4 separate regions of the Homo sapiens genome follow, and regions 2, 3 and 4 are each linked to region 1. Evidence: promoter capture Hi-C in 16 types of primary human blood cells and fetal thymus (Javierre and others, 2016). All regions are on one chromosome and are shown on one strand. The core of a region is centred on a gene start or on the middle of the fragment in contact, and the rest is flanking DNA. Distances in the headings are between cores, read along the strand shown. Region 1 holds the start of LARS2-AS1 (LARS2 antisense RNA 1). Region 2 overlaps LIMD1 (LIM domain containing 1). Region 3 overlaps LIMD1 (LIM domain containing 1). Region 4 has its middle 6.3 kb from the start of LIMD1.

Region 1 (5,260 bases), core at 1,889-4,388:
CCACATATGGTTTTTATAGATTTTTGGGGATTTATATAAGTGGGATTATACCTTATGTATACTTTATGGTATTTCACTTAATGATATGAATGGATTTCTCCATGGCAGTTCATATAGATCTATCTCACTTTTTAAAAAGTTACCTAGTGTTCTGAAATATGAATTGATTATAACTTATTTATAGTACCTGTTTTAAAAAGTAGTTTTAGTTATACCCTTACTGGGTAAATAGTGACATATAAACTTTTTCTCATAAGAGGATAAGAACAGGTTGACCTTCATACTGAAATTATTGCAAATTTGCAGTTGTTTATTCTTAAGAATCTGCCTGATTCAATTTTGAGGCATTTCAGCAAGACCTATTCCAAACTCAAAGAATGATTCATGGCGATATCTGCTGATAACACACGTTAAGTATTTCGTGTTCAGGGTATCAGGTAGGAGCACTCATTTCCTGGAGATCCAGTGATGTTCCCCACAAACATCACCAGTACATGGCTTTGGTTGCTCAAGGTAAATTTTTAAAGGTGTTTTTAGGGCAAAAGTTAGGAGAGAATGATCTGGATTCAAAGATAAAGATAGGTAGGATGATCAAAATCAGCAGCATTGGCCAGGCGCGGTGGCTCACGCTTGTAATCCTAGCGCTTTGGGAGGCCGAGGCAGGTGGATTGCCTGAGCTCAAAGTTTGAGACTGGCCTGGGCAACATGGTGAAACCCCGTCTCTACTAAAATACAAAAAGTTGGCCAGGTGTGGGGGCGCGCACCTGTAGTCCCCGCTGCTTGGGAGGCTGAGGCAGGGGTTGCTTGAGCCCAGGAAGCGGAGGTTGCAGTGGGCCGAGATCACGCCACTGCACCCCAGCCTGGGAGACAGAGCGAGACTCTGTCTCCAAAAAAAAAAAAAAAAAAAAAAATCAGCAGCATTAAGCCTCAAGAAGGGGCTGGGAATCCAAGGAATCCTATTCTTAGGTCTTGTATTTTATCAAGTGGCACAACACTGCCACCTTCCGAGAACGGACAGAATTGCAACCTGCGAAAAACTGACTAACCCCAGCTGTTCAGCCTAAGGCTGCAACTTTTGCCTCGTCTTTTATAACTTTTTTTTTTTTAAGGTAAACTGTTGAGGTATAGCACACATATTGAAAAGTGTAAGTCCTAGCGGTATAATGATGAATCTTCACAATATAAAACACACTTGTGTAACTGGCATTCAGCCCAATTAGCAGAACGTGAAATCAACCTTCCATCCGCTTCTAGGCACTGTCTCCTCACTATGGGCCCCTATAGCCTGACTGCTAACACTATTATTTCATCTGCCTGTTTCTAACCCGCTTGTAGCCATTTCTTAGTGAGAGCTCTCAGGGGATGTCCACATGGGAGGCTTTCCCCAGAACTGGCAGGCAGGTCCTCAGCAGTGCACCCACACCAAGACCTGCTAGTTACATGAATATATCCTAATGTCTGAAAGCTTCCAACAATGAAACTTGACAGTTGAAGCTCTTCTGGACTGTCTTCTCTGAGGGTTGCAGTGCAGCAGGGGCCATCTCAGATGGATCATCTAGAGCAGGGATGGCAAAACCTAGCCAACTATCCCCAGTGCCCTTGCCTACAACCACCCAGACACCATTCATCGACAGCAGCACTCCTGGTGCTCAGAACGAGTCTCTGAATTCTTCTTCGTACCATATAATCAGAAAGCACAGAGTTATTATGTGAAATGTATCACTTATTTCTTTGGTATTTCTTGAGTGCTTGCTATGTGCCTGGCACTGAGCTAGGCACTGGGGATATAATGTTGGGCAAAGCAATCTCTGCCCTTGGGGAGCCAGCCTGTTTACGATCACTGAACCAAACCAATGCCTGACAACTCTCAGAGCTGTGAGGGAGGAAAAGAAAGAGTGCAGTCATATTTGAAGAGCTCCTCCTCCCAATCAAGTCCAAATTCCTCCGCATAGCCATCCAGGACTTCTCCCTGTCCCCTGCCACTCCCTCTGCTCTTTCAAATGTTGCCTGCATGTGCTTCCACGTCTTTACTCACGCCATTTCCCAAACTGTTATCAAAACTCTAGTCCTCCTTCCTGGCTCAACTCAAATGCCATCTCCACTGAGAAGGTATCTCCTGGTCAGAATTAGAATTAGTTGTTTTTTCCTTCCTGATGCATCCTGTGTAGTGCCTGTAATTGTATCTAGCAGCTATTACATTTTATTGTGTATTTAGGTAAGCTGCTTGCCTGTCTTTCTCCTGTGAGGAGTAGGAGGATGATTTTTTTTTGAGACAGGGTCTTGTTCTGTCACCCAGGCTGGGGTGCAGTGGCACAATCACAGCTCACTGCAGCCTCAGTCTCCTGGGCTCAAGTGATATTCCCACCTTACCCCTGCAAGCAGCTGGGACCACAGGCGCGCACTACCACACCCAGCTAATTTTTTGTATTTTTGGTAGAGATGAAGTCTCACTATGTTGCCCAGGCTGGTCTTGAACTCCTGAGCTCAAGCAATCCTCCTGCCTCGGCCTCCCAAAATGCTGGGATTACAGGCATGAGCCACTGCTCCTGGCCTTGAAAATCCTTAAAGGCCACTCTCAGTCTCCAGTTCCTAACAGATGCTCAGTAATGTTAATTGCCTTGAACTCAATCAAGCTTGTTTCAGTGGATGAATAAACCTACCAGCAGCAGGGGTGGGGGATAATGTGAGTAGGACAAAGTGGAGGCAAGAGAGGAGGGAAGAAAGAAATGAGTGAAGTGGGGCACTGGATGCTATACTTTCCAGCTAGTGCCACCATCTTTTTGCAGGGAGGGGTGCATTGAAAGATCCCAAGCAGCTGAAGCAAGAGAATGAGAGCAGGGGAATGCCCCGATGAGTGCTCACATGGAATTTCCCAGTGGGGAAAGGGGCGCTTCCCAGCTCCTAGAATCCTGCTCATTCCCAAGTGTTTTCCCTCCACTTTTCCAGGGAGCCAGGGAATGGGCTATAGGGAGTTGGGAATCTGGTTTTCACTCTTGGCTGAAGCTGGCCATGTCTACTCTCATGCGTAGTTTAGCTCTGAATGAGTCACACTTGTTTATTCATTCAACATGTATTTACATGATAATTGGGTACACAGCACTAGGCAATTAATTGGAGAGCTTACAATAAGAACAGGCAGCCCAGGACATGCTCATAAATAACCATCAGCACTACAAGAAAGACGTACCAAATGTGATTTGGAGGCGCAAGGTGCACAGGAATGAAGGACAAAGGACATCAAGGGCCCTGCTGGACTTGGAACCCAGGCCTGCTGGAGCAGAGATCACATCACATTGCCAAGTTCATTATTCAGATTCACAATTGGGGTAATGTGTTTCCCTTTTGTTCACTCATTCATTCACTCAACAGATGGTACTTGGGAACAGACTTGCGTATGCAACTGAGTTATTCATTCATCATAGTGACTGTGCACAGCAGGGGCCTTTATAAGTGAGTGGAAAATCTGCAACTCTAAACCACTAACAAACCGTTCTGACTCAGGGACCATCAAACGCGGGAGTATTAGGCAGGGCCTCTGCCTTGAAGAAGGCCCTGGATTTCTGAGTCAGCTTTCTTCCTACTCCTTCGGTACATCCCTGGAGGTAGATCATGCTTGCTTGCACTGAAGCACAGCTATATGTAAGCACAGTGATGAAAACTGGGGGGAGATCTTCACAATTTCTTCATTAGTTTAGACTGCACTAACTCAGAAATTGCAACAACTGATAGCTGCTGGGCATTGAAGGCCACATTTGTCCCACTTGGAAGAAGGAAAGAAGGAAGGGAGGGAGGCAGGGAAAGAGGGGAGGAAAGGTAGGGAGGGAGGAGAGGGAGGAAGGGAGGGAAGGAAGGGAGTTGCTAATTATTAGGATAAACAAGGAAATTCAGAACATTGATTGATTGGCCATGTTAAGTGCTCTTAAAAAAATCACTATATACAAGGAATGTGCTAATTACAGTATGAGCAAAGAATATCAGGATGTATCAGAGCCCCACCTTCTTGCTGCAGATGACATTTACCTATTCATGAAGCCCCAGAGAGCCTGCTGCCCACTCCCCTGACCTGGTGCGAGAGTGGCCTGCCAGGCTGCAGATCTTTGAAGGCCATAGATCTCTGAAAATGGTCTCCAAATTGGACTTTTCATTAAATCAGACTAAGTTTACCTTCCTCTTCTTCCTTGTTCTGTGCCCAGGGCCATCATGTCACATAATTAGCCTAGTTTCTAAGTATTAGCCATGGCTCATTCTTGAAATATCACCATTCCCATTTCCTAGCAGCCAGTTAGTGGCGCAGAAGGAGGGTTTACTAATACAGCAGGACCCAAGTAAAGCTTCTCTTCCCTTCCTGTTCCTTTTCCCAGTAGCCCCGTTTCTGGCATGATCAGAGTAACAGAGAAGAAAGCTCTGTGGATAGGGGCTTGCTGTGCTCTCCACGGTCAGCAGGCGGCCTGCCCTTCTCATGGGAGCTCCCTGAGCAGCTGCTTGCTTCTGACAGCCACCACTTTCTGTTGATTCCAAACTGAAGGGAGAAATTCAGTTTGGGGAATTTAGTGTCTAAGTTGCATTACAGAGCTACAACAAAAAGTGACAAGATTCCATGTTTACAGCGGTCTCCCACAAAGGGAGAGAAAAGGCTTCCTGATCTCATTCAGTGAAGATGGGCCATGACATGTTCCCACGCTCTAATGTGCCCCCTCTCTTTCAACCTGGTGCTAACCACCGGAAGGAGGGAAGCTGAAAGCTGATCCTACCCCACACCCACAACCACAGCAGGAGGCTCAGCATATTTTCCTTCTTTGGAATATATACCATACTGTAAATGATAAAGTTACACAATCATTGTAAAAAATCTGGAAAAAATCAGAAGTATATTGGGCTCACCACCCAGAGATAGCTAGTGTTAACATGTTGGCATGAGTTTTTCAAGTCTTTTCTCTTGCTTTGAGTATGTGTATATATGTGCTTGTATATATAAAGACAAAGATAACCAAGCTGTATCTTGCTTTTTCTATTTCTCATTACTTCAGATGAATTTCTCCATGTTATTAAACATTCTTTGTAATTTAATTGAAAGTGTTGTATAAGTGTGCTCCACGTAGATGGATTATACTTTATTTACCCTGTCTCAGCATTTTGGGGCATTTAGATTGTATCCAAATTTTTAGCTACTTGAAATAACACTTACATGAACATCTTGGTGCATAAGTTTGCATTTCTGATTATTTCCTTAGGATAGATTTTTAGCAGTGCAATTAGTGCA
Region 2 (5,260 bases), core at 1,183-3,682, 120 kb before region 1:
CTTGATGCATTTCAAAGTTGCAGGCAGCAACTTCACCCCAAACACTTCAGCCTCCCCATCATTAACTAGAGTTCATCATTTATTTGCTTAGGCTTATTTTTTTCCGGGTAAAATTCACAAACAGACACAAAAAGTGTAAGTCTACCATTCAATGAGTTTTGACAAATGATCTATGTAAAGCAAACCCAAATCAAGATATAGAATATTTCCAACACCCCCAAAAAGTTCCTGCCTGCCTTCTCCCTTCCATCTTCTCTTTAATGGCCATGAAATGCATGTGTGTGCATGTATATGTGCCTGTGGAGGGGAGGGTGGCGGGCGGATGAGATTACTGGACAGCTGGCATTTCTGTTCCTTGCAAGCAGCAAAGTCAACAGGGAGCCCCCACCAGTATGAAACTGAAAGCATCAAGTAATTCAGAGGCATCAGCATTTCTTTCTGTCTAATGATTTTTATATACAACTTAGGTACCTTATGCTCTCAAGGTAGAAAATACAGTTCCGGGCAAACTGCATTTCTTTTGCTGGCACACATGGAGCTGTGGGGCCCACCTAGCAGCAAAGCATAAACCCAACAGGGTTGAGGCATCACCACTCATCTTTAAGGCTCCTTTAAGCGGTCTCGTCACCCTGGAAAGCAGTGGTGTCGCGGCTGCTGCTAGGGGCCCATGCACAGTGACCACTGGACCAGGCCGAGCCAAGTGGGGCCTCTAGTATTTGGGACGGGGCAAATGTGGAAGTGATGGTGGTGGTGCATCTGCCACTGGGCACAGCACCTACCATGCTGTGGTGAGTTGCTAGTTACCTGGGCATTTGCCTCTCCTAGTGAATTGCAAGTGCCTTCAGAATAAGGGCCATGTCTTAACTGTGGCCTCCGCAAGTGCTCAAGGAAACAAGTGTGAGTTGAATCACATTCCACATAGTTCCCTGCACAGTCCTTTCCTCTTTCTTCCTTACCTGGCACCTGCTTCCTTGTATCTTGGGCACACATGTCTGTTCCCCCACAAGCACTTCATTCCAAGGCCCAGGGTCTTATTCATCTCTGAACACCCCCAGCCACAGACAGAGTGCACTTAGTATCCCCTCAGCAGACCTAAACACAGAGAAATGGGTTCTATGGACATCTATTGGGAACTGGCGATGACATAATTCAAATGTGACAATGGGGGAGAAATCTTTCCGAAAAATGCCAAATATCAGGCCATGGCAAAATGTCAAGATATGAGTTAGGTTATTGTTTGGTAATGCCGAAGTCCACTTCCAGATTACCCATCGTAAGTCCCCTGGTGGACCTGACTCTAAGCCTTTACAATGAGCAACAAAAGCTAGTTTGTCAGGCATCAACTAAGCACACTCGAAGCAGGCTACATGTAATGTTAAAGCAGTGCATTTGTGAATATAATTCTGCTCACAAACGTGGTGTAAAACCACTCCCAAATGCTGTGGCCTCTTTGTTTAACCTCCTGTAAAATGCTGGCTACAAACAGCAGAGGGGCACAGGGACTCAGCAGCTTAGCATGGCATGCCCACCCTTTCCACCACCCACAGCATGAGCACATGAAGAGGACCGTCCTGCAAGACAGCTCACCAAAAAGGAAAGGTGAAATGAATTGCACGTGTCAGTGCAATGCTGCTGGCCCAGACGGCAGAAGCAAATGCATCTTATTTGGGTTTGGGGAATGAAATCCAGCACCCTCTCCTACCCCTGTTCATAAGATGCTGGCAGGGTGGCCAGCGTCTTCACGTGGATGCTCTGACAACAGCCAGTGCCCCACTGGACTTCCTGCCACTTTATCTCTCAACGGCAGGGCTTCCTCCCCTCTCTCCACACCCTGCTCAGCTACACTCTCTTCTGGCTTCCTCTCTCTGAGGGCTGTGACCCTCTGCCTTCAGCTGTCCCTCACTTTCTGTTCCTGCAGCTGAGTCCTTCGGGCTGCTGACATCCTTTCTCTCCACCGTGACCAGTGACCACCTAGCACAGATACAAAACAAGGAAGCCACCTGTGTTTGAAACCATGGGTCACAGAGTGAGGAAGACCCCATAAGAAGCCAAGTAGGTAGGAAAAGATTTCATCCTTGTGGCTAAATGGATCTAAAAGTACTTCCTACACAGAAAAGGTAGGGAAAAAAACTGCATTTCACATTCTAGGAAATCATGTGTCTACTATGGGCCAGACCCTGGACTTGGAGATTTCTTTCTTTGTTTTTTTTTTGAGAGAGTCTCACTCTGTCGCCAGGCTGGAGTGCAGTATATCAGTATGGACTCACAGATATTTTTTTCTTTGGATTTTTATTATTATTATTATTATTTGAGACAGAGTCTCACTCTGTCATCCAGGCTGGAGTGCAGCATGCGATCTCGGCTACCTGTAACCTCTGCCTCCTGGTTTCAAGCTATTCTCCTGCCTCAGCCTCCCGAGTAGCTGGGATTACAGTTGTGCACCACCATGCCTGACTAATTTTTATATTTTTAGTAGAGACGGGGTTTCTCCATGCTGGCCAGGCTGGTCTGGAACTCCTGACCTCAGGTGATCCGCCCGCCTCGGCCTCCCAAAGTGCTGGGATTACAGGCGTGAGCCACCGCACCTAGCCAGACTTGGGGATTTCAACCAGTGAAGGAGCTGCTGCCATCTCCTGTCTAAAACCCAAGTTCCAGAAAGGTCCTGTCACTTACTGAAGTCTGCACAGTGGGTAGGTTTGAAAGAGGGAATCTGAGCCCCAGTTCCAACTCAAAGGTCTCATTATGACTATCTGGTTGGCAGCTGTGGCTATTCCTGCCACACATGCCCCCCAACCCCCCCCATCATGAGGGGAGCTCCTTCCTCACCCCATAACATATCACCTCATCAGGGATTCAGACCCCAGACCAGCCCTGCCCCCAGTCTCCTACTACCCACCCTGGCCCACCTCCCATTCTACCTTGTCCCTTGCACACACGACCATCTTTCTGACTGGGACCTCAATCACAAGGCCTCTCCCTGGGGGGCAACCCGCAGCTCCTCCTGCCCTTCTGTGAGGGGCCCTGCAGGTGCGTGCCTTCTGATTGCCCTTCAGGAAACCAATCGTTCCCCCCACAAACACTTCCCTCTCACTCATTTGGAGCCAGCCCCTCTCCAGACGCTGGCTATGGGATAGGGAGCAGGGTGACTGCACTGTGGCCATGCCCTTGTAGAAACCAGACCCTGCCACCACTGGTGGTGAGCTGCCCAATCTCACCTGTACATTCACTAAGTGGTCTGGGCTGAGGAGAGGCTCAGGCTCAACAAGAAGAAAAAGAGTAGGCTCTTAGCCTCCCTTGGCTTTGCCAGGGCCCCCCATGCCACAGGATTTTAAAGAAATGCCCAACAGAGGAAAGAAAAAATATCATCACATGTTACTGTAACAACCAAGCTCAAAAACCAGAAGGGAAGTGAGAGGAATAAGGGATACACTTTTAGGAGAAGAGAGGAAGGGATGGGCATTTTTCCTCTGCAATTAGACTTACTGCCCCTTTAGCCCATTCTCCAAATTGTAGCCCAAGCAATCTTCTTATAAAACAGCTTTAATGAGATATAAGTAGCATATAATAAGCTGTACCTATTTAAAGAGTGCAATTTGGTATTATGATGGGAAAAGTTCCCTTGTCCCTCTCACAGGGTGTGCAATGGGAGTGTGGCTCGCTTCTTCAGTGCCCCCCTGCTCAAACCTCTAGGGGAGCATACAGGCTCTCCTCCGACTGCCCCAGCCAAACTCTGCCTCGTTCTGCCGGCTGATGGCCTGCCAGTGTGGTGGCGTCTGTCGGTGTGCTCCTGGCATCCTCTCGCCATCCAGCTGCTTGTATCTTCTTCCGCTGATGTGTTCCTCTCGCCGTCCAGCAGCTTCTGTCTCTGCCTTGCTAGGGTCTCAGGTTTTTATAGGCCCAGGATGGGAGCAAGGCAGGCTGGGGTGGTTTTGGAAAATGCAATATTTGGGTGCAAAGGCAGAAGTGCCTGTCCTCACCTAGGTCCCTGGTATAGAGCCCTAGCCAGGGACCATGCCCTCCTCTACCCAGCACTTCTCTTCCCTGCTTCTGTATCAGTATGTTGTGACATTTCTTTTCTTTTCTTTTTTTTTTTTTTTTTTGAGACAAGAGTCTTCTTTGTCACCCAGGCTGGAGTGCAGTGGCGTGATCTCAGCTCACTACAACCTCTGCCTCCTGGGTTCAAGCGATTCTCCTGCCTCAGTCTCCTGAGTAGCTGGGATTACAGGCACGTGCCACCAGGCCTGGCTAATTTTTGTATTTTTAGTAGAGACAAGAGTTTCACCATGTTGGTCAGGCTGGTCTTGAACTCCTGACCTCATGATCTGCCCGCCTCGGCCTCCCAAAGTGCTGGGAATACAGGCGTGAACCACCGTGCCCAGCCCCGTGTTGTGACATTTCTATACACCTGTGAAATCACCACAATCAAGACAATGATCAAATCCACTGCCCCAGAGATTCCCCATGTCCTCATGCCTTTTGCAATCCCTCCCCGCTTCCTCTTCCTCTCCCCAGGCAACCACTGATCTGCTTTCTGTCATCACAGATTAGCTTGTCTTTTCTAGTTTATATAAATGGAATCTGGAGTATGTACTTTATCTGGTTTATGTACTTTATCTGGTTTCTTTCACTCAATATAAATTGAGATTCACGCATGCTGTTACATGCAGCAGGAGCTCATTCCTCTTTACTGCCATGTGGTATTCCACCATATGAATGTATTAGTTTGTTTATCCATTTGCTTGTTGATGCACATAAGTTGTTTCCAGTTTGAGGCTATTACAAATAAAGATGCCATCAAGATTTGTGTACAAGCGTTTGTAATGGACATACATTTGCACTTCTCTTGAGTAAAGGCCTAGGAGTGAAATGGCTGGGTCTTATGGTAGGTGGATGATTAACTGTTTAAGAAATTGACAAACCGCTTTCTGAAGAAGTTATATCATTTTACATTCCTACCAGCAGCTCATTAGAGTTCCAAATTCTCCACATCCTTGCCAACACTTGGCATGAATAGTCTTTTAAATGTTATCCATTCTATTGTAATAGGTTATACAGTAGCATCTCATTGTAGTTTTAATCTGCATCTCTCTAGTAACTGATGTTGTGTGTGAGCATCTTTTCACCTGCTTATTTGTCATCCTTTTCTTCTTTAGTGAGACGCCCAAATCTTTTGCCTGTTTTTTTTCTTACTGTTATGAGAACTTCTTATACATTCTAGATACAAGTTCTTTATCAGATATTGCTTCACAAAGGTTTTGCT
Region 3 (5,260 bases), core at 1,396-3,895, 100 kb before region 1:
GAGTGAAATAAGCTGGACAAAGGAGTACTATAGTTGATTCTCATTATTTGGCAAGAATACTGAATCAGTCAATACTGAACCACTGCTTCTGGCAGAAATACAGGGTTAGGTTTCTGAAAACTTCTGACCACAACACTTTCATCAACTGATGAATATATGACCTTGTTTTATGTGTGCTTCTATTTAGAGACACCTTCCTTAGTATATATTGTTGATTCATTAACATCGAACCCTCAGCCAACAGCCCTGTAGCTCGTGCCTGAAGAAAGCTTCTCTCATACATATTCTCGTTGTAAAGCACATCACAGCCCTCTTGCTCTTAGGAACACTAGAAAGCACTCCAGCACTGTGCCTGGGGGCCATTTGAAACAGCAAAATCATCAACAAAAACCACAAAAATGCAAAAACCATGGCACTAAATAGACCATGAAAAGGACACCTGTTTACTGCATGACCTGAAACAAGAAGGCGGAGCGTTGCCTTGTTCGACTTCAGCTGGGAAGATAGGCGTCAGGGGACTCAAACTTTTCAGCACTCTGTTATATCTGTGAATGATCACAAAAGAACTGTGAGTATTAATTTTGGGGTTACAAATAAATTTTAGCAAGTAAGCTGATTCACAAATACAGAATCTGTGGATAATGAAGATCAACTGTATATAAATACTATATGAATCCATTTATATTACATCTTAGAATGGGCAAAACTAATAAATGATTTTAAAAAATCAGAATTGTAGTTGCCTGGAGGTGAGCACTAACTGGAAAGAAGCATGAGGGAACTTTCTGGGGATGGAACTATTCTATATCTTGATAGGAATGTGGGTCACACAGGTGCATGCATCTGTCAAAACTCACTGAACTACACATTTCTCTGTATGCAAATACAGCATTTTGAAAACAATTCCTAGACACTCCTCCTATCAAGAAGTGAGAGTGTGGAAAGGCTTGTGAATGCTTAAAGTAATAGAGCACAGCAGAATGACACTAAATGACTTCCAGGCATTGAGCCTGACCCCAAGTATCCAATGCAGACATCAAATAGCCTGCAAAAGGCCTGGCACAGTGGCTCACACCTGTTATCCTAGCACTTTGGGAGGCCGAGGTGGGAGGATCACTTGAGCCCAGGAGTTCAAGACCAGCCTGGGCAAGACAGCGAGACCCTGCCTCTACAAAAATTAACAAATTAGCCAGGCATGGTTGTGCATACCTGTGTTTCCAGTTATTCGGGGGGCTGGGATGGGAGGATTGCTTGAGCCCAGGAAGCCAAGGCTACAGTGAGCTAAGATGGTGCCACTGAACTCTAACCTGGGTACAGAGTGAGAATTTGTCTTTAAAGAGAGAGAGAGAGAGAGAGAGAGAGAGAGCGCGCACCTGCAAACCATGACAGAGCTGGGCAGAAGCCATGCTAGCTTCCTCAACACCACCTCCTTTCTTTCTCCCTGCCTTCCTCACCGCCTCCCACCAACTTCACTTCCTCTGCTCTCTGGCTACAAATTTGGGCAGAGATGCCTCTCCCCACACCTCACACACCCACCGTCAGGCATGGGCAACCCAGAGAGGTGGCAGCTGTGTGCTATGGGTAGAGGAGGGGCTGCCAGCTCCAGTCCATTCATGGCTTCTAACTGACCTCTGTGGCTGGCCAACAAAGAGCCTCTGTGTAAGTCCCTGCCACCTGCAAGCAAAGCCTCAGTGATGTCAGGACAAGCCTCAGACAAACAGGCCTTTGCAAGCTGCCTGGAAAGCCACCTCCCAGCCTGCCCCTGCATTGGCCACAGGCTTATTGGGAGGCCCATACCCAGGAAAGGGCTCCATAGCCTACACAGAGGGATAGGACATAGGCATCCCAGTAGCCTGTGGCCCCTGATGAGCCAAATCCCAAACAGCCTTCCTCCCACCTCTTGGGACAGGAAACACCATCGTTCACTTCTCTACCTCCCTCAAGGGGATGGGCCATCTCTTTGGGCTTTCTGCCTGTACTTGCTAAACTGAGTGTATTTTTTAAGGCGCTGGAAAGTTGGCTCAGCTGCAATGACCACCTGCTCCATCAAGCCCTGTGCACACAGCAGCTTCGGACCCCAGAGCCCCCCTGCTTCAAGTGGGAACGGATTCGTTCTAAGGCTGCGTGGGAGCAGCCTGCCATCCCTTGCATCAGGCATTTGGCCTCAGTGGGCTCACTTGGTGGTTGGCAATCATGAAATCAGCCTCCCTTGAACAAATGATGATCTTTTTGTTTAAGCATTTGTGGTTCTGAACAAATCGATTGGGCTTGGCTTTCAGATGGGACAAGGTAAAGACGCTTCCATGCTTTTGAGAAAATGACAAAGCAAGAGAATGTATACAGCAAACGACCATGTGTTACAGCCTGTTCTAAGTGCTTTGTAAGGCACAGCCCTGCCCAGCAGAAAAATATGCAAGCCACGTGCGATTTTACATTTTCAAGTATCCATACTTAGGAAGTAAAAATAGGTGAAACTAATTTTAATGTTTTACTTAGGCCAATATATCCAAAAGTCTCATTTCAACATAGAATCAATATGAAAAATATTAATAAGCCACTCTTTTCTCCATACCAAGTCTTCAAAATCCAGATGTGCTTCAAAAGCACATCTCAGTTCAGAAAAGCCACCTTTTGAAGTACTTCACAGTTGCACGTGGCCAGTCTCCCGTACTGGACAACTTAGATCAGATACTAGCTAATTCAGTCCTCACAACCATATGCACATTTTACTGATGGGGAAACTGAGGTACAGGGCTGCTGAACAACCCGCCCAAGGTCTCACAGCTGTTGGCAGAGCTGGGGGGTGGCAGATCCAAAGCCCACGTGCTTATTAGGCTTTTCATTCCCACCAACAGCTCCTCAAATCAAAGCCACCATGCATGCCTGCCAGCATGTCTCCCTGCTCCCTGCCAAACCTGCGCAGGCCTTTGGTGAGCTAGTCCCTGGAACTCTATAAGTTTCTATCCAGATAAAGCATGTATCCCAACCCTTTCTGGCCCCTCTAGTCCTCAGCTACCAAAGGCATCTCCTACCCACATGAGAGCGCTCATCTGAGTAACTCTGGTCAGGGTGAGGGATGTGGACAGCAGCCCAGTGCCCCTGCCTCCCTACCACGTCAGTGTAGGGTATGGATTGATGCCAGAATGTGTGTCCCAGCTAAAGGCACTGACACTCAGGAGGAAGTCAGGGAGTATCTGCTCCCCACATCTGGCCAGAGTGTACACATATTCATTCGAGAAGTCTTTTTTTTCTTGAGACAGAGCCTTGCTCTGTTGCCCAGGCTGGAATGCAGTGGCACAATCTCGGCTCACTCGCCTCCCGGGTTCAAGTGATTCTTCTGCCTCAGCCTCCCGAGTAGCTGGGATTACAGGCGCGCGCCATCATGCCTAGCTAATTTTTGTAGTTTTAGTAGAGATGGGGTTTCACCATGTTGGTCAGGCTGGTCTCGATCTCCTGACCTTGTGATCTGCCCACCTCGGCCTCCCAAAGTGCTGGGATTACAGGCATGGGCCACCGCACCCAGCCTCATTCAGTAAGTTTCCACTGGGTACCTGCTGTGTGCCAGGCAGTGCCTTGGGCCCTGGGGATACAACAGTGAACAAAACAGACAAAAACCCCACTACCAAGGAGCTCAGATACAGCAGGAGGAACTAAGCAATACCTGTTTGTGACAAAAGGAAGCCCTAGTAGTCCTAATTCAGTCTCTTGCACATAGTAGGTACTCAATAATAGCTGCTGAATGAATGAGTTATCCTGGCTTGGAACTACTTTTTCTGGATGTGGTAATGCAAAGATAGGTCTGGGGCAGGGGTAAGTGAGGGCTGTGGAACCCCGCAGGAAAGCCAGTGACCCACTTGGGGTTCATGCCCACAACTCCAGCTTCAGGAATCTGGAGCTCCACCCACCAAGGAAACCAAGGAACCATTCAGAGCCAGGCGCGGTGGCACATGCCTGTATCCCAGCTACCTGGGAGGCTGAGGCAAGAGGACTGCTTGAGCCCAAGAGCTTGAGGCTGTAGTGTACTATGATCACACCTATGAATTAAAAAGAAAAAAGAAGAGAACATCATGAAGCTCCCCCAGGTTATATGCTGACCGACTGAAATTCCCTTAACCGCAAAATGTAGTCAAGTCTCAAGTTTACCACAAGGGACAGGGATTCTCCAAGTTTACTGAATCTGGAGGTCTAGCACTTCTAACATTCAACTTCCATTCCGTGCTTGGCCCTCCTCCCACAAGCAACGTCACCCAAGTCCTCACCAGATAAGCTCTCCCTTCAAAACTCTAACAGGTAATCAAGGTCTGGTGAAAATTGGCACAGCTACTACCAGGCACAAGTTATGGAGAAAATACCTATGTAGCATCCACTGTTTCTTAGCCACTACTGCTGAGCAAACAGTAGCACTGTCACCAAAATATTTCCCTTTTTTATTCTGATTGGGTAATATTATAAATACATACCATGATTCATTCATTCAACAAATATCTCATGAGTAACTTCTACAGACCAGGTCTTTCGGTTTCTATTTTGAACCTTATCACTAATTCAGTGTTTGGTTTTATTTCTTCATTCTCCTTCTTTTTTTTTTTTTTTTTTTGATACCGAGTCTCGCTCTGTTGCCCAGGCTGGAGTGCAATGACACAATCTTGGCTCACTGCAACCTCCGCCTCCCAGGTTCAAGCAATTCTCCTGCCTCAGCCTCCCGAGTAGCTGGGACTACAGGCATGCGCCACCACACCCAGCTAATTTTTGTATTTTTAGTACAGACAGGGTTTTACTGTGTTAGCCAGGCTGGTCTCAAACTCTTGACCTCAAGTGATCCGCCCGCCTCGGCCTCCAAAAGTGTTGGGATTATAGGTGTGAGCCACGTGCCCAGCGTCATTCTCCTTACTTCTTAGAGACAGGGCCTCTCTTGCTTCTAAACAAACTTTGTCATTGTACACGTTTTTCACACCCTCCCCAACTCAGGCTTCTTCACTCCGTCAGTGGGCTTCTCTGCAAGCAAATGAGGGAAAGCTTCCAAGTTCAACCAATGTACATGCCTGCGATGCCCCCGCCCATACACACAAGGTGTCCGAAGCAAGTTCTCCCTAAACCACTGTCACCCTCAGAGCCAAGAGTCTTCTCCCAGCCAACAACCCTGAATCTAAAACTGGCTCTGAGGCTCAAAGCAAGGGAAAGGACACAGGATTATAAGCAGCACAGGACCTCCAGTCTCCATAATATGAAGAAACTGAGGACAGAAAAGTGAAGCAGAAAA
Region 4 (5,260 bases), core at 1,021-3,520, 79 kb before region 1:
TATGGCTGCCGGTGGACCAATCAGCACACACTTCCTCCCTTCTGAAGTCCATAAAAAAAACCAGACTCAGCCAGACTCAGGCAGACAATGGGATGACCTGCCTGCAGATAGGAGCTACCCACTCTGGGTCTCTCTGCTGAAGGCTGCAGAGACATCGGGGCAACCTGCCTGTGGAAGGCAGCTACCCACTGTGGGTCTCTTCTCCACTGAGAGCTGGACACTCATCGGGACAACCTGCCTGAGGAAAGGAGATACCCACTGAGAACAGTTCTGCCACTCAGTGAGGCTCCTTTCTGCCTTGCTCACCCTCCAGTTGTCTGCATACTTCATTCTTTGTGGACACAGGACAAGAACTTGGGACCCACTGGGCAAATGGTGGCACTAAAAGATCTGTAACACAAACAGGACTGAAACACACCCCTTGCTTGCCACGTTGTGGGCAACGAGAAGGAGAGAAGAGAGAAGGAGAAAAGAGAGAAGGAGAGAAAAGCTGCAGCCCTTTGGGGAGCCCAGACCTAGGAGCACCCCAATCCAGGGTTATGATACCCTCTTTGGGGCTCTGCGGTTCCTGGTGTCTCCAAGCTTCCAGGTGCCACCGCATTCCCCAGTGCCAGCGGTGGAAGTTGCCTGTGGTACGCCTGGTCCAGCCACAGCTGTGCCCGTGCTGGCACCTGGAGCTGCCTGCACTGCCACAGCTGGCATGCCTGGCTGTGTGCAGTGGCCAGACCCCATGCTTGCTTGCTCACACAGCTCTCGCTGCTCCATGGCTGGCTTGCCCTTGGCAAGCATGGGATCCACACCAGTAGCACGAGCTGAGCACAGCCTGTCAGGCTAAGTGGGCGAAACAAAACCAGCAGGCCTGAGCAAAACTTGGGCAAAGGCACCACTAGCCACAGAGGTTTCTGTCTGGAAAAGCAACACCCCAAGTATCCTGTGACATTGGCACCTATGTGAGCCCACAATCCTTGATGCCCTCCTGCCTCCCCGTATCTTGGCTTAGCTGAAGTGCTCAGCATTCCAGAAGCTTGTAGGCATTACTCTCCACCCCCACTGCCATTCTAGAACAGTTGCACCATCTCCATCAACTAAACACAAACCTGAATCCACAATCCATGTATTTCCTGCCCCAACTGGGTTGTCCTCTCTTAGTCAATGGATCACCTTACACCGTTACAAAATAGATTATAAAGATGGCATCCCAGCCGAGCACAGTGGCTCCCTCTTGTAATCCCAGCACTTTGTGAGGCCAAGGAGGGAGGAATGCTTGAGGCCAGGAGTTTGCGACCAGCCTGGGCAACAAGCATAGTGAGATCCCATCTCTACCAAAAAATAATTTTTAAAAAATTGGCCAGGTATGGTAGCACATGACTGTAGTATCGCACCACTGTTCTCCAGCCTGGGTGAAAGAACAAGACCCTGTCTCAAAAAAAAAATTAAAAAAAAAAATAAAGATGGTATCCCATGGGCATCAAACTGAATAATATACCACTGTGAAAGGGTACTTAGAAATGGCCAGGAGACTACTGATGTTTTACTGCTGCTGTTTAATACATAAGAGGCAGAGGTCTTTCAAATTCTCTGCATAGCATTTAGAATCCCAGCTGTGGTTATTTAATACAGGCTGTTTTTGTCTGTTTCATGTGCTTGGAAACAACTTTAATATCTCAAAAAAAGGTGTTTATATTTGCATAACAGTTGTTTAAGAAGCAAAATACTGAAAAGTTAAAAAATTTTATCAGTAGGTAGGCAGAGTGTAAATGGTTTTGTTTAAGTGTTTACCAGTAATGTTTTATTTTGTTTTCTTGAATGAAAACATGTTCAATATTCTAGTTGACTAGTCTTGGTCCATTTGGGCTGTTATAACAGAATACCACAGACTAGGTGACTTATAAACAACAGAAATGTATTTCTCATGGTTTGAGAGGCTGGGAAGTCCAAGATCAAGGCAACAGCAAATTCAGGGTGTTAACCAAAAATAAAATCCTAAGGCCCCCCAACCATCTAAATGGACTTCCTCCTCAGCCAGGGCACTCTAAAATTTAACCTGAAAGTGGGGGTCAGACATGCCTCATTACACCTCTCTGGCATTAACATCAACACAGACCTTAAGTCTGATGAGAAATATTTACAATCTATTCTCTCTGGTTTTGTTGTTGTTGTTTTGTTTTGTTTTGAGATGGAGTTTTGCTCTTGTTGCTCAGGCTGGAGTACAATGGCATGGTCTCAGCTCACTGCAACCTCCGCCTCCTGGGTTCAAGTTATTCTCCTGCCTCAGTCTCCCGAGTAGCCGGGATTACGGGCACACGCCACCACGCCCAGCTAACTTTTTGTATTTTTAGTAGAGCTAGGGATTCTCCATGTTGGCTAGGCTGGTCTCAAACTCCTGACCTCAGGTGATCCACCCACCTCAGCCTCCCAAAGTACTGGGATTACAGGCATAAGCCACTGCACCCAGCCCAACAATCTATTCTCTCTGAAGCCTGCTACCTGGAGGCTTCATCTGCATGATGAAACTTTGGTCTCCACAGTCTCTTATCACAACCTAGACTTTTTTTATATTGATAACTATTTCAACTAATTGTTGGTTAGAAAAATTTTTAATCTACCTATAACCTGGAAGCCCTCACCCCCACCACCCCCCTCTTTGAGTTGTCCCACCTCTCTGGATGCAACCAATATATATCTTAAATGTATTTGATTGATGTCTCACATCTCCCTAAAATGTACAAAACCAAGCTGCGCCCCAACCACCTTGGGCACATATTCTCAGGATCTCCTGAGGGCTGTGTCACAGGCCATGGTTGCTCATATTTGGCTCAGAATAAATCTCTTCAAATATTTTACAGAGTTTGACTCCTTTTGTCAATGGGTGTTTGGTGAGGACCTGCTCTCTGGTTCATAGATGGTACCTTCTGCCTGTGTCCTCACATGGTAGAAGGGTGACCAAGCTCCCTCAGGCCTCTTTTTTAATGGCACTAATTCCATTCATAAGGGCTCTACCCTCATGACCTTCTTTTTTTTTTTTTTTTTTTCTTGAGATACAGTCTCGCTCTGTCGCCAGGCTGGAGTGCAGTGGCGTGATCTTGGCTCACTGCAACCTCCACCTCCCGGGTTCAAGCAGTTCCCCTGCCTCGGCCTCCCGAGTAGCTGGGACTATAGGCGCACACCACCACACCCGGCTAATTTTTTTGTATTTTAGTAGAGACAGGGTTTCACCATGTTGGCCAGGATGGTCTCGATCTCCTGACCTCATGATCTGCCTGCCTCAACCTCCCAAAGTGCTGGGATTACAGGTGTGAGCCACCGTGCCCGGCCCCAAAGTCCCACCTTCTAATACCATTACTTTGGGCGGTAGGATTTTAACATATGAATGTTGGGGCAGTGGGCATAAACATTCAGTCCATAGCAAGCTGTAAAGCATGGAGCCCCTGCAAAGCAGTGATCATTCCTTCCCATGGCCCTGCCTGTGCAACAGGTACCATTTTCGACACCCAGCTTTCCTTTAGGAAAGCTTTAGGCTGAGGCAGGACAATTGTTCATGATACACAGATACAAAAACTGCCTGCCACAGGGACACACTCATGGAATGTGAATTTTTTTTACTTGACCTGCCCAGAATCTCAGTAACATCAGTCAGATCATGGCTTTCCCTAGTGCAAACCCTCCAATGGCATCCTGAACCACACTTAGATCCTTTCCTTGGCTCTATGTGATCTGGTGCCTTGCCTCCTCTGCCTCCAAATTTTCCACTATCCTTTCCTCTTGCTCCATTCAGACACATGGACTTCTTTGCTGTTCCTTGCCCTTGCCCTTATCATGCATTCACTCACAGAACAAATGGTACTGAGCACCTGTAATGCCCCGGGCCCTTTCCTAGGTGCTGGGGATACAGCAGTGGACAAAACAGATGAACATCCCTGTCCTATTTGGACTTCCATTCTAGTACATTTGAGTGGGGAGGATGGACAATAAACAGAATAGGTGCATGCCTTACAGTACATATTAGAAAGGGATGGGAGCTATGGTGAAAAATGAAGCAGGAAAGAGGACATAGGGAGGGGTGCAATTTTAAACACAAGGGTCAGGGAAGGTCCCACTGAGCAAGTGACACCTGAGCAGAGACCAGAAGAAGAACAAGTGCAAGGAGAGACGGAGACAGCCATCTATGCAACTCTTTCTAGGAGTTTTGTTGGGTAAAGTGAATTAGAGGGAAAAGTGCCATGAAGAGAGGGTTTTTCAATTTGTTTAAAATGTGGGCCAGGTGCGGTGGCTCACGCCTGTAATCCCAGCACTTTGGGAGGCCAAGCCAGGTGGATCACTTGAGGCCAGGAGTTTGAGACCAGCCTGGCCAACATGGTGAAACCCCATCTCTACTAAAAATACAAAAATTAGCTGGGCATAGTGGCGCACACCTGTAATCCCAGCCACTTGGGAGGCTGAGGCAGGAGAATCGCTTGAGCCTGGGAGGTGGAGGTTGCAGTGAGCCAAGATCATGCCACTGCACTCTAGCCTGGGTGACAGAATGAGACTCCATCTCTAGAAAAAAAAATAGGCAGGTCACGGTGGCTCACGCCTGTAATCCCAGCACTTTGGGAGGCTGAAGCGGGTGGATCATCTGAGGTCAAGAGTTTGAGACCAATATGGTGAAAAATCCCATCTCTACTAAAAATACAAAACTCAGCCAGGCACAGTGGCGTGCGCCTATAGTCCCAGATACTCAGGAGGCTGAGACAGGAGAGTTGCTTGAACCCGGGAGGCAGAGGTTGCAGTAAGCTAAGATCACACCACTGCACTCCAGCCTGGGCGACAGCAAGACCCCATCTCAAAAAAAAAAATTACATTTTAATTAATTAATTAATTAAAAATGTGGGAGATTGGCTGGGAGTGGTGGCCTACACCTGTAATCCCAGCACTTTGGGAGGCCAAGGTAGGAGGATCACATGAGCCCAAGAGTTTGAGCCCAGCCGGGGCAACATGATGAAACCCTGTCTCTACAGAAAATACAAATATTAACCAGGAATGGTGGCGTGCGCCTCTAGTCCCAGCTACCTAGGAAGCTAAGGTGGGAAGATTGCTTGAGCCTGGGAGTGGAGGCTGCAGTGAGCTGTGATCATGACACTGCACTCCAGCCCGGGAGACAGAGCAAGACCCTGTCTCAAATAAATAAATAAATAGTAGGAGGTGGTAGGGCATGTTTCAACACTGGTGGGAATGACCCAGTGAGATAGGGACATGGGAGAGGAGCATTGCTAATGTAGAA

Evidence for each region. The method cuts DNA at HindIII sites, captures the fragments that hold promoters and counts their contacts. A CHiCAGO score of 5 or more calls a contact.
Region 2: a fragment that was not itself captured here is called in contact with the fragment with the promoter of LARS2-AS1 in region 1 in 1 of 17 cell types (monocytes); the score reaches 6.1 in monocytes.
Region 3: a contact is called between a fragment that was not itself captured here and the fragment with the promoter of LARS2-AS1 in region 1, in 1 of 17 cell types (monocytes). The highest score is 5.2, in monocytes.
Region 4: a contact is called between a fragment that was not itself captured here and the fragment with the promoter of LARS2-AS1 in region 1, in 2 of 17 cell types (monocytes and megakaryocytes). The highest score is 5.4, in monocytes.

Annotation. Positions count from the first base shown.
Region 1 is chr3:45,507,423-45,512,682 of GRCh38, reverse strand. LARS2-AS1 (LARS2 antisense RNA 1) reads left to right here and starts at 3,138. Exons shown (of 4, transcript NR_048543.1): 1 at 3,138-3,326. All of the region lies in intron 15 of LARS2 (leucyl-tRNA synthetase 2, mitochondrial), which reads right to left. RefSeq lists a silencer at 2,772-3,066 and an enhancer at 3,893-4,759. The HindIII fragment of the contact is 1,698 bases long and covers 2,636-4,333 here.
Region 2 is chr3:45,628,253-45,633,512 of GRCh38, reverse strand. The region is part of intron 1 of LIMD1 (LIM domain containing 1); the gene reads right to left. Among named protein-coding and RNA genes, the nearest start is that of LIMD1, 36 kb to the right of the region's middle. RefSeq lists an enhancer at 3,045-3,546. The HindIII fragment of the contact is 9,554 bases long and covers 1-5,260 here.
Region 3 is chr3:45,608,177-45,613,436 of GRCh38, reverse strand. The region is part of intron 1 of LIMD1 (LIM domain containing 1); the gene reads right to left. Among named protein-coding and RNA genes, the nearest start is that of LIMD1, 16 kb to the right of the region's middle. RefSeq lists enhancers at 539-588, 1,646-1,715, 5,084-5,260. The HindIII fragment of the contact is 4,747 bases long and covers 272-5,018 here.
Region 4 is chr3:45,585,846-45,591,105 of GRCh38, reverse strand. No RefSeq gene overlaps it. Among named protein-coding and RNA genes, the nearest start is that of LIMD1, 6.3 kb to the left of the region's middle. The HindIII fragment of the contact is 2,487 bases long and covers 1,027-3,513 here.